2 separate regions of the Homo sapiens genome follow, and region 1 is linked to region 2. Evidence: promoter capture Hi-C in human tissues and cell types (Jung and others, 2019). All regions are on one chromosome and are shown on one strand. The core of a region is centred on a gene start or on the middle of the fragment in contact, and the rest is flanking DNA. Distances in the headings are between cores, read along the strand shown. Region 1 overlaps UBAP2 (ubiquitin associated protein 2). Region 2 holds the start of UBAP2 (ubiquitin associated protein 2).

Evidence for each region. The method cuts DNA at HindIII sites, captures the fragments that hold promoters and counts their contacts. A contact is called where the count stands out against the background at its distance.
Region 1: a fragment that was not itself captured here is called in contact with the fragment with the promoter of UBAP2 in region 2 in 1 of the 25 tissues and cell types used here (liver).

What each region holds. Positions count from the first base shown.
Region 1 is chr9:33,991,052-33,994,922 of GRCh38, reverse strand. All of the region lies in intron 4 of UBAP2 (ubiquitin associated protein 2), which reads left to right. Among named protein-coding and RNA genes, the nearest start is that of SNORD121A, 40 kb to the right of the region's middle. The HindIII fragment of the contact is 5,057 bases long and covers 1-3,837 here.
Region 2 is chr9:34,046,279-34,050,664 of GRCh38, reverse strand. UBAP2 (ubiquitin associated protein 2) reads left to right here and starts at 1,778. Exons shown (of 29, transcript NM_001370062.2): 1 at 1,778-1,840. It also overlaps the pseudogene RN7SKP114. RefSeq lists enhancers at 1-98, 99-955, 1,146-1,675, 956-1,811, 1,812-2,668 and silencers at 1,706-1,795, 1,946-1,995. The HindIII fragment of the contact is 41,306 bases long and covers 1-4,386 here.

The DNA of each region.
Region 1 (3,871 bases), core at 60-2,559, 55 kb after region 2:
TAATTGAAGTCTCATTTTAGGGTCATGCTGCATTAGGTACAAGAAATACAAAAATGAACTCTGAGAAACTGAAAGCTAAAATGACTGTGTTTTTAGTTGATGTGAAACAAAGAGAATGAATTCTTTTAAAGTAAAAATTAACTAATGTGGAAAAGATTTCACTGTTTGAGTGTAGCAGTAATTGTTGGTAAAATTCCATGTAAGAGAACACTGGTACACAAGACAAACCATCAAATTTGTGATTTTTTTTTTTTGGGAAAACCATATTATATGATAAATTAAAATTTTGAATAGTTTTTGTTTACTGACCTGGGACTAAGTATCCTGGGTTTTGCAAAATATGGAGGATCTGTTTACCTTATCGCTAATGGGTACAGCAGAGAGTGGCTTTCAGTTATTTTCAAAGTGAACTGAAGAGCCTAACCGCCCTCTTTGTTTAGGGAAAAAAAAAAAAAAGAAAAAATCTTTGGGAATAAACAAAATAACCCAAATTGTTCACTGGAGAGGATCTTTTTGGATCTTTTTATGGTAGAGATAAGTCCAGACACTATTTTTTGTTGCCTTTCCTTTAGCTCCAGCAGATTTAATTCCTTTTCTCTGGTAGTTTGGTGAATTTTTAAGTTTTAAATGTCCAGTTTTCTCTTTCTGTTTTGAGTTTTAACACCCCCTCCTCCTTTGGGACCGAACCTGAAGGAGCTGGTTCTGGGCTATGTATTAGAAAGTAAGACTGACTGGGCACTGCGGCTCATGCCTGTAATCCCAGCACTTTGGAAGGCCTAGGTGGGCAGATCACGAGGTCAGGAGTTTGAGACCAGCCTGGTCAACATGGCGAAACCCCATGTCTACTAAAAATACAAAAAATTAGCCAGGTGTGGTGGTGGGCGCCTGCAATCCCAGCTACTCAGGCGGCTGAGGCAGGAGAATTGCTTGAACCCGGGAAGCAGAGGTTGTAGTGAGCCGAGATCGCGGCATTGCACTCCAGCCCAGGCGACAGTGCGAGACTCGGTCTCAAAAAAAAAAAAAAAAGAAAGCAAAGCTGAACTTTTCATGAAGAACACCTCTTTGGTTACCTCTTGAACGATTTTATAGTGTGGGCTATATCTGACTTCTTGTTTTCTTCAAAGATAAGAAAATAGCAAATGAAGTTCTGAATATAGTTGTGAAAGAATACACTTGTTCAGGGCTGAGTGGGCTGTGGGGGACAGAAGTAGAGGTAAAGTCTTTGTTTTAGTTGTTTGGTGTTTTGGGTTTTTTATTAAGACAGGGTCTCACTCCGTTGCCCAGGCTAGAGTGCAGTGGTGCCATCACGGTTTACTACAGCCTCGACCTCCCGGGCTTATGCCATCCTCCAGCCTGCCGAGTAGCCGGGACCACAGGCGCATGCCACTACGCTTGGCTAATCATTTTTATATTTTGTAGAGTTAGGGGGTCTCTGTGTTTCTATGTTGCTCAGGCTGGAGTCTTTGAAACCCTGGTTTGTTGAGGACCACTCTCTGGTACATCTTGTCTCTCATACTGTTTGCCTCATCTCTTACCTAGTTGCCATCTGCAGCACCTATGGCTAAACAGCTTTGATTATCTTCCCTTGACTGAGATAGAGTTAATTGGAGTAGGGTTGACAGAATATAAACACTGTGATGTTGCTAGGAGCAAGAGCATGAAGGCAAACGATTCTTTTCCTATTATCTAACCTTCCTCTGTGCTGAAACAAAATTATTACTTGGAAAAGGTGTTAAGTGGAATCGTCCATGATGTTTTTAAGGATAAATTTATTTTTTCTTATGTAAGTATATCTGTCACAAAGGAAGATATTGAACATAAGTACTGAACTTTTTGTTTCATCATAATGTTTGGTTGATGTGACAAAATTGTTTTGAAGTATCGGTCTCTTGAATTAATGTACTTAACTCTTTTTAGTAAGTTGTTTGTGTTGGTAGTTTTTGGCAAAGGCAAAGTGGTGGGAGAGTAATTTTTGAACTAGCTGGCTTCGAAGACTGCTGTTCTGATTATTATGTGGTGGCTGGGAGGACCTCTCCTCTTAGAGTTTCTTCAGACCTGTTCTGCAACTAGCAAAATACCGATAACAGAGGTTGCCAGAAATTCTCTTGGAAATCCTCCATAATTACTTGGTTAACTTTTTAAAGTATGCATGTGTGTATACTTTGCAGACTTCAGCAAAATACACAGTAATCTTTTTAGCAGTTACTATGGTATTGTAAAGATTGCTTCTTAAAGGTTCTTTTCCCTATTTGTGCCCCCCCCCCTCCGCCCGATAAGTTGTCTTTGTAGAGCTCATAAACCAAGACTTTGCTTGAGGGGCAGTAGGATGGGGAGGGTATCTTTTTTTTATTTTTATTTTTTTGAGATGGGAGTCTTGCGCTGTCACCCAGGCTGGAGTGCAATGGCATGATCTCAGCTCACTGCAACCTCTGCCTCCCAGGTTCAAGCAGTTCTCCTGCCTCAGCCTTCTGAGTAGCTGGGATTACAGACATGTGCCACCACGCCTGGCTAATTTTTTTTTTTTTTTTTTTTTGAGATGGAGTTTTGCTCTTGTTGACCAGGCTGGAGAGTAATGGCGTGATCTCGGCTCACCACAACCTCCTGCCTCCCGGGTTCAAGCGATTCTTCCGCCTCAGCCTCCCGAGTAGCTGGGATTACAGGAATGCGCCACCACGCCCGGCTAATTTTGTATTTTTAGTAGAGATGGGGTTTCTCCATGTTGGTCAGGCTGGTCTTGAACTCCCAACCTCAGGTGATCCACCCGCTCAGCCTCCCAAAGTGGTGGGATTACAGGCATGAGCCACTGCACCCGGCTGCTAATTTTTGTATGTTTAGTAGAGATGGGGTTTCACCATGTTGGCCAGGGTGGTCTGGAACTCCTGACCTCATGATCTGCCCACCTTGGGCTCCCAAAGTGCTGGGATTACAGGTGTGAGCCACCGTGCCTGGCCAGGGTATCATTTGCTATATGAAATGGGGTAAAGTGTTTCTCAGATGTTTTACAAAGACAGCTGGCCCCTTTATAAAGATAGAGTACCTTTCGGCGAGGCTGTGTAAAGATGTACATTGTGTATACATACACTTTATGCCAACTCTTCTGGGATGATTTTTCCAGGACCTCTGGAATTTACTTTTTGTATTCTAACCTAAGAGGACTGGATTCTGTTTTACACAGTTGTCTAGTATTTTCATATTAGCAAACATAATAAATTGAGTTTGTTCAGTGTGGGCATTATTTTCTCTGGCATAGATAAGCTTTATTGTTTAATTAGAAAAGAAATGCAGAAAAATATTAAAGATTAAATCAAATTAAACATCCTCACTTAAATAATGACTTATACCTCTTCCTTCAGTAAGTACATAGGCTCCTATTTGAACTAAAAAATGTAATTCTATATGCTGTTTGCTGATAGCTTGCTTTTTCTATCAAGGACCTCTTTCTATATGTACCTATGTAACTGGTAAAATGGCTACATACTGCTCCATTTATGGATACACTAGACTACTTAGTCTCCTGAATTTGATATTTTGGGAATCCGCCTCCCCTCCTTTTATGCTGTTGATCATTTTGTCTGCACATAAATGTTTGAACAATTCTTACGTTATTATTATTATTATTTTTGATACAGAGTCTCGCTCTGTCACCCAGGCTGGAGTGCAGTGGTGTGATCTTGGCTCACTGCAACCTCCACCTCCCAGGTTCAAGCCTTCTAGGTTCAATTGATTCTCCTGCCTCAGCCTCCTGAGTAGCTGGGATTACAGGTGCCTGCCACCACTCTCAGCTAATTTTTGTATTTTTAGTAGAGATAAGAGTTTCACAATGTTGGCCAGGATAGTCTCCAACTCCTGGCCTCAAGTGATCTTCCTGCTT
Region 2 (4,386 bases), core at 529-3,028:
GGTCTCAAACTCCGTATCTTGTGATCCGCCCTCCTCCGGCTCCCAAAGTGCTGAGATTACAGGTGTGAGCCACCACGCCCGGCAGCATTCTTTAATTCAGATGAATAACAAAGGCTTTATTTGAACTAGATAGGGCTGTTTAAGATGTCAATTGTTTTACTTAATAACTAGCAAATTAGTAATTAGCATAGTGCCCTGTACAAAGTTCAGTATAAGCTAATTTCCCCTTTCTACCTTACTTAGACCTTTTGGGCCCGATGGGTAGAGTGTGAAAATGATTACTGATACTTACTGAGGGTTTATTATGTGTCAAGCAGGCATTTTACATAATCTCATTTAATTTTCACAAGCCGGTGAAGTGTTATTACAGAGGAAAGCTCCAATTGAGATAAGGCATGCCGGGACTGCAAAGTCCTTGTATGTAACTAGCTTGGGATAAAACAGGCCAGTAAGTAGACCTTGAGAGCTTGTTTAGAGGACCTTGAGAGCTTGTTAACACGGGCGTGCAGCTACTCCTATATCCTTGACTTGTCCTCTTCTATGGGGGATGCTCCTCCTTTTCGACCGAATATGCAGCTTCGGGAGGGACGCACATGGAGAGGTGCGGGAGGAAGGGGCCACCCGCCTAGACAGCCAGATCAGCCGAATCAGCCCTGGCGATCTATGGGGTGACAAGATAGCCAGAACGCCCTCACATCCAAACAGGCCAGTAAATGGAAAATACTTTAAAACACCATGCTACAATTATAAACCATCATCTTATTTATTCGTAATTCTTGGAGTTGACAACAGGTCAGATCCTATTGAGAGGAGGTCATTAATTTTCTAAAGACAGAAAACCTGGGTCTCTTCGGTCAACAAACAACTCTAAGGTTCTTTTTTTAAATCCTTAAATAGGGAAAATCCTGGACTCAAGGAGTTGATTATATGATATAACAGAAATAAACGGCTGACTTGGAGTAGGCGTTCAGTAGATTCTAGTCTTTTCACCCAGAAGGGGCTTGGGAGGGCAAAAGTAAAACCGCACTGAAAAAGACTAAAAGTGGGCGCACCTTCCGCCTTGCCGAGGCTCTCGCTGCTAGCCGTTGGCGTTTTCCCGCGCAGGGGGCAGGGCGCAGAGCGAGCCCAGGAACGTGGGAGCGGAACCCCACCCCCCGCCAGGACTACACCTCCCAGCAGGCACCACGCTCCGCCACATGGCGGGCGGCATCCAATGGTATTAGTCCTTCAAGCCAGCTTAGTCCGCTTTCCGTCCCGGCCTTCCCTCGGCTCTAAGGTCTCTAGGGGGTTCGTCTAGAAGCCCGCTGGAGAAAGGCTGCGGTAGGGGTCGCCTTGGCTGTGCAGCATGTTGGGAGTCGTGGTCCCCTCGTGCAACATTTGGGAGGCCAGGCTTGCCCTGAGTGGTTGGACCACATCACGTGATGAGCACAGGGCGGCCACAGGGGAGTAACCTGTGGTGCTTTGTGAGGTCATCACGGCGCGACGACGAGCTGCAGTTGTGGGCACCTTGTATGCGGTGGGTAATACTCTCCTGATGACTCCGAGTACAATACATATTATCAAGTCTCCCTTATTTGTTCCTTTCTGTGGTCCCCACCTCCACGCGGTTGGCTTCGCGGGGTTGGGGTGGAGGTGGTGGCTGGAAGAGGCCGCGCGCCGCCTAGGCTGACTCTGAAGCCGCGCACGAGCGACGTGTTGTGGCTCCTCCTTCGCCCGTGACGCGAGGTCACGTGACGGGTTGGGCAGCCTGTGCCGCCGCCGCCGCTTTGTAAGAGGCACATTGGCAGGTAACGAGCGGCGGCGGCGGCAGCGGGTCTTGGGTCCTCCGAGAGCAGCAGCGGTAATTGCCATCCTCTCCCTCTCCTTCCCTCTTCCAGGGCCCTGAGCGCTGCAGCGTGTGCTTTCTAATTCTGGGTTCAGCTCGTCTGAAACCCCACCGCCTGCAGACTGCCCCGGCGCCCACCCGTGAGGACCGGGCCGAGCTTCACTCGCCAGGTCCACGGTCCCTCTACGTCCAGGCCCGGGCTCCCTCCTTCCTCTTCCCCTCACGTTGCCCTGTGCTTCTTCCTACTTTCCCCCGTCCAGGTCGGCTGGGCCCCACCCAGCCCCAGGGGTGCCTCCCCTCCCCCCTTTCGGGTTTCTGCCCTGGAGGGTGTGGTTTTCTCTCCCACCTCGGTGCCTGCCAGTAGACTGGAGCTTCCCCGCCACGCTGTCGGTCCCATCTCATCACCTTTCCGCTTTCACGCCCGTAGCTAGTCTTGGGACTGGCCCTGTTATAGCCCCAACTTATGCGCTCTCTAACCTTTCCTGGCTTACCCGGAGTCACAGTTCAGTTCTACTTCTTTTCAATTCTGTAGGGCATTGGTCTCAATTGGGACTCAGTTTTCCTCCACACCCGCCGTTCCTGTAGTCTGGTTATATCACAGTTCATTATTTAATGTAGGTTTTTGAGCGCTTTGTAAACGGCAAAGCTCTCTCTGTTAATAATACATACTCAAAATGTTATTCTTTCATTGGTGCATTACAACTCAGTTGTTTGCCTCTGAATCACTTTCCCACTCGGCTTTTCCACATTTTCCCCTGAGTTTTTAGTCTAATTAGTTGCCCACGCATCTCAACTGTCACCACTCTGGTCTCTAATGCTTGCTCGCTTTAGGGGTTGATCCCATCATTATTACTGTTATTTCCTGTTTGATGTAATCCAGTCATTTACTACCACTTCTATTGGATATTGTTTTTACCTCACATTCAAGGAAGGTATATGGTTTGCCAGTATTTAGGCTTATTGTCTTTCTACAGCACCAGTGTATCCTAACAGTTGAGAGATTTTAAAAAATTACTATTAATTTTAGAGATATGGTCTCCATATGTTGCCCAGGCTGGCCTCCAGCTCCTGGGTTTAAGCGATTCTTTCACCTCAGCCTCCTGAGTATCTGGGATTACAGTGTGCACCACGGTGCTCAGCTAGTTGAGGGTTTTTTCAGGTCTCCATAAGGTATCCAAAGATTATCTTTTATTTGAAGGGCATATAATTTCTTGGGTGAACCCAGTTCTTATATTCCTCTTCCGTTGTGACAGCACTTTTTTCAACAAGGGGTATGCGACTAGTTATTGCATTCCTCACTTTTCACTGTGAATTGTGTATCCGTTTTAGTGCCAGTTTGTGAAAGGTGGAAGGAAGTTGAACATGATACCTAAGCTCTCCCGTATCCTACATTGGTGTGTTCCCCTTTTACCTCAGGAAAGGGAATGTATTCCACTCCCTGGAGATGATAGTTTCCTTCAATACACTCACCTGTGGAGCCCCTTCGCTAGGGTTGTCCTTCCATTGCTTTGAAGGCTTCTCTTATCATTAGGCAGAAGTGATTAGTTTCCCAAACTGCCCTTTTGCTTGCTGCCAGCATACTCCTGATTTTCCTACTTATGGCTAGTTGATACGTGTGACGAGAGATTTTCCCACAGCGCTGATTTCCCCCATTTGCTTCCCTGTTGCCTCTCACCCTCAATAATTATGAAACCTTTCAGAGAAGGAAGGTTTTTGTTGTGATTGAAATATGCCCGAAAGTGGTGGCATGGGAGAGAATGAGGCCATGGGAAAGGGTTGTGGTAATTGCCTCTCTTGCCTGTTTCCTGCTGCTCTGGTTTCCTCTGTCCTCCCTTTAAATGTGGGCTGGATCAGCAGTAGTCACATGGAGTTGCCTTTAGAACTATATTGGAACAACAATAACACCTCTGCTTCCCTTTCCTGGTTACTAGTGCAGTCTATGTAGTGATCACCAGGAGTGTCTCTCTTAGTATTAGCCTGAGTGACTTTTATTGTATGGGGAGAAATGGTGTGATGGTGTGAGAACATGTAGACTAATAGGTTTATTTCAATATGTACTTGTATTGTGATGGGAACTGGTCCCGGTATCTACCCTCTTAAGTATAAAATATGTGTAGAAAGTACAAACCTTTCTTGAAGGTTTGGAGTGGTCTGAAGTGAAGCCTTCTTTTTTTTTTTTTTTTTTTTTTTTTTTTTGAGATGGAGTCTTGTTCTGTCGCCCAGGCTGGAGTGCAGTGGCCTGATCTCGGCTCACTGCAAGCTCCGCCTCCCGGGTTCACGCCATTCTCCTGGCTCAGCCTCCCGAGTAGCTGGCACTACAGGCACCCACCACCACGCCCGGCTAATTTTTTGTATTTTTCAGTAGAGATGGGGTTTCACTGTGTTAGCCGGGATGGTCTTGATCTCCTGACCCCGTGATCCGCCTGCCTCCCAAAGTGCTGGGATTGCAGGCGTGAGCCACCCCGCCCGGCATGAAGCCTTTACTTCTAAAATGTTAGCTTTGAATTGTTGATTTCCCAGTCCTCTTTTTTTTTTTTTTAAATGATGATTTATTGTTAAGA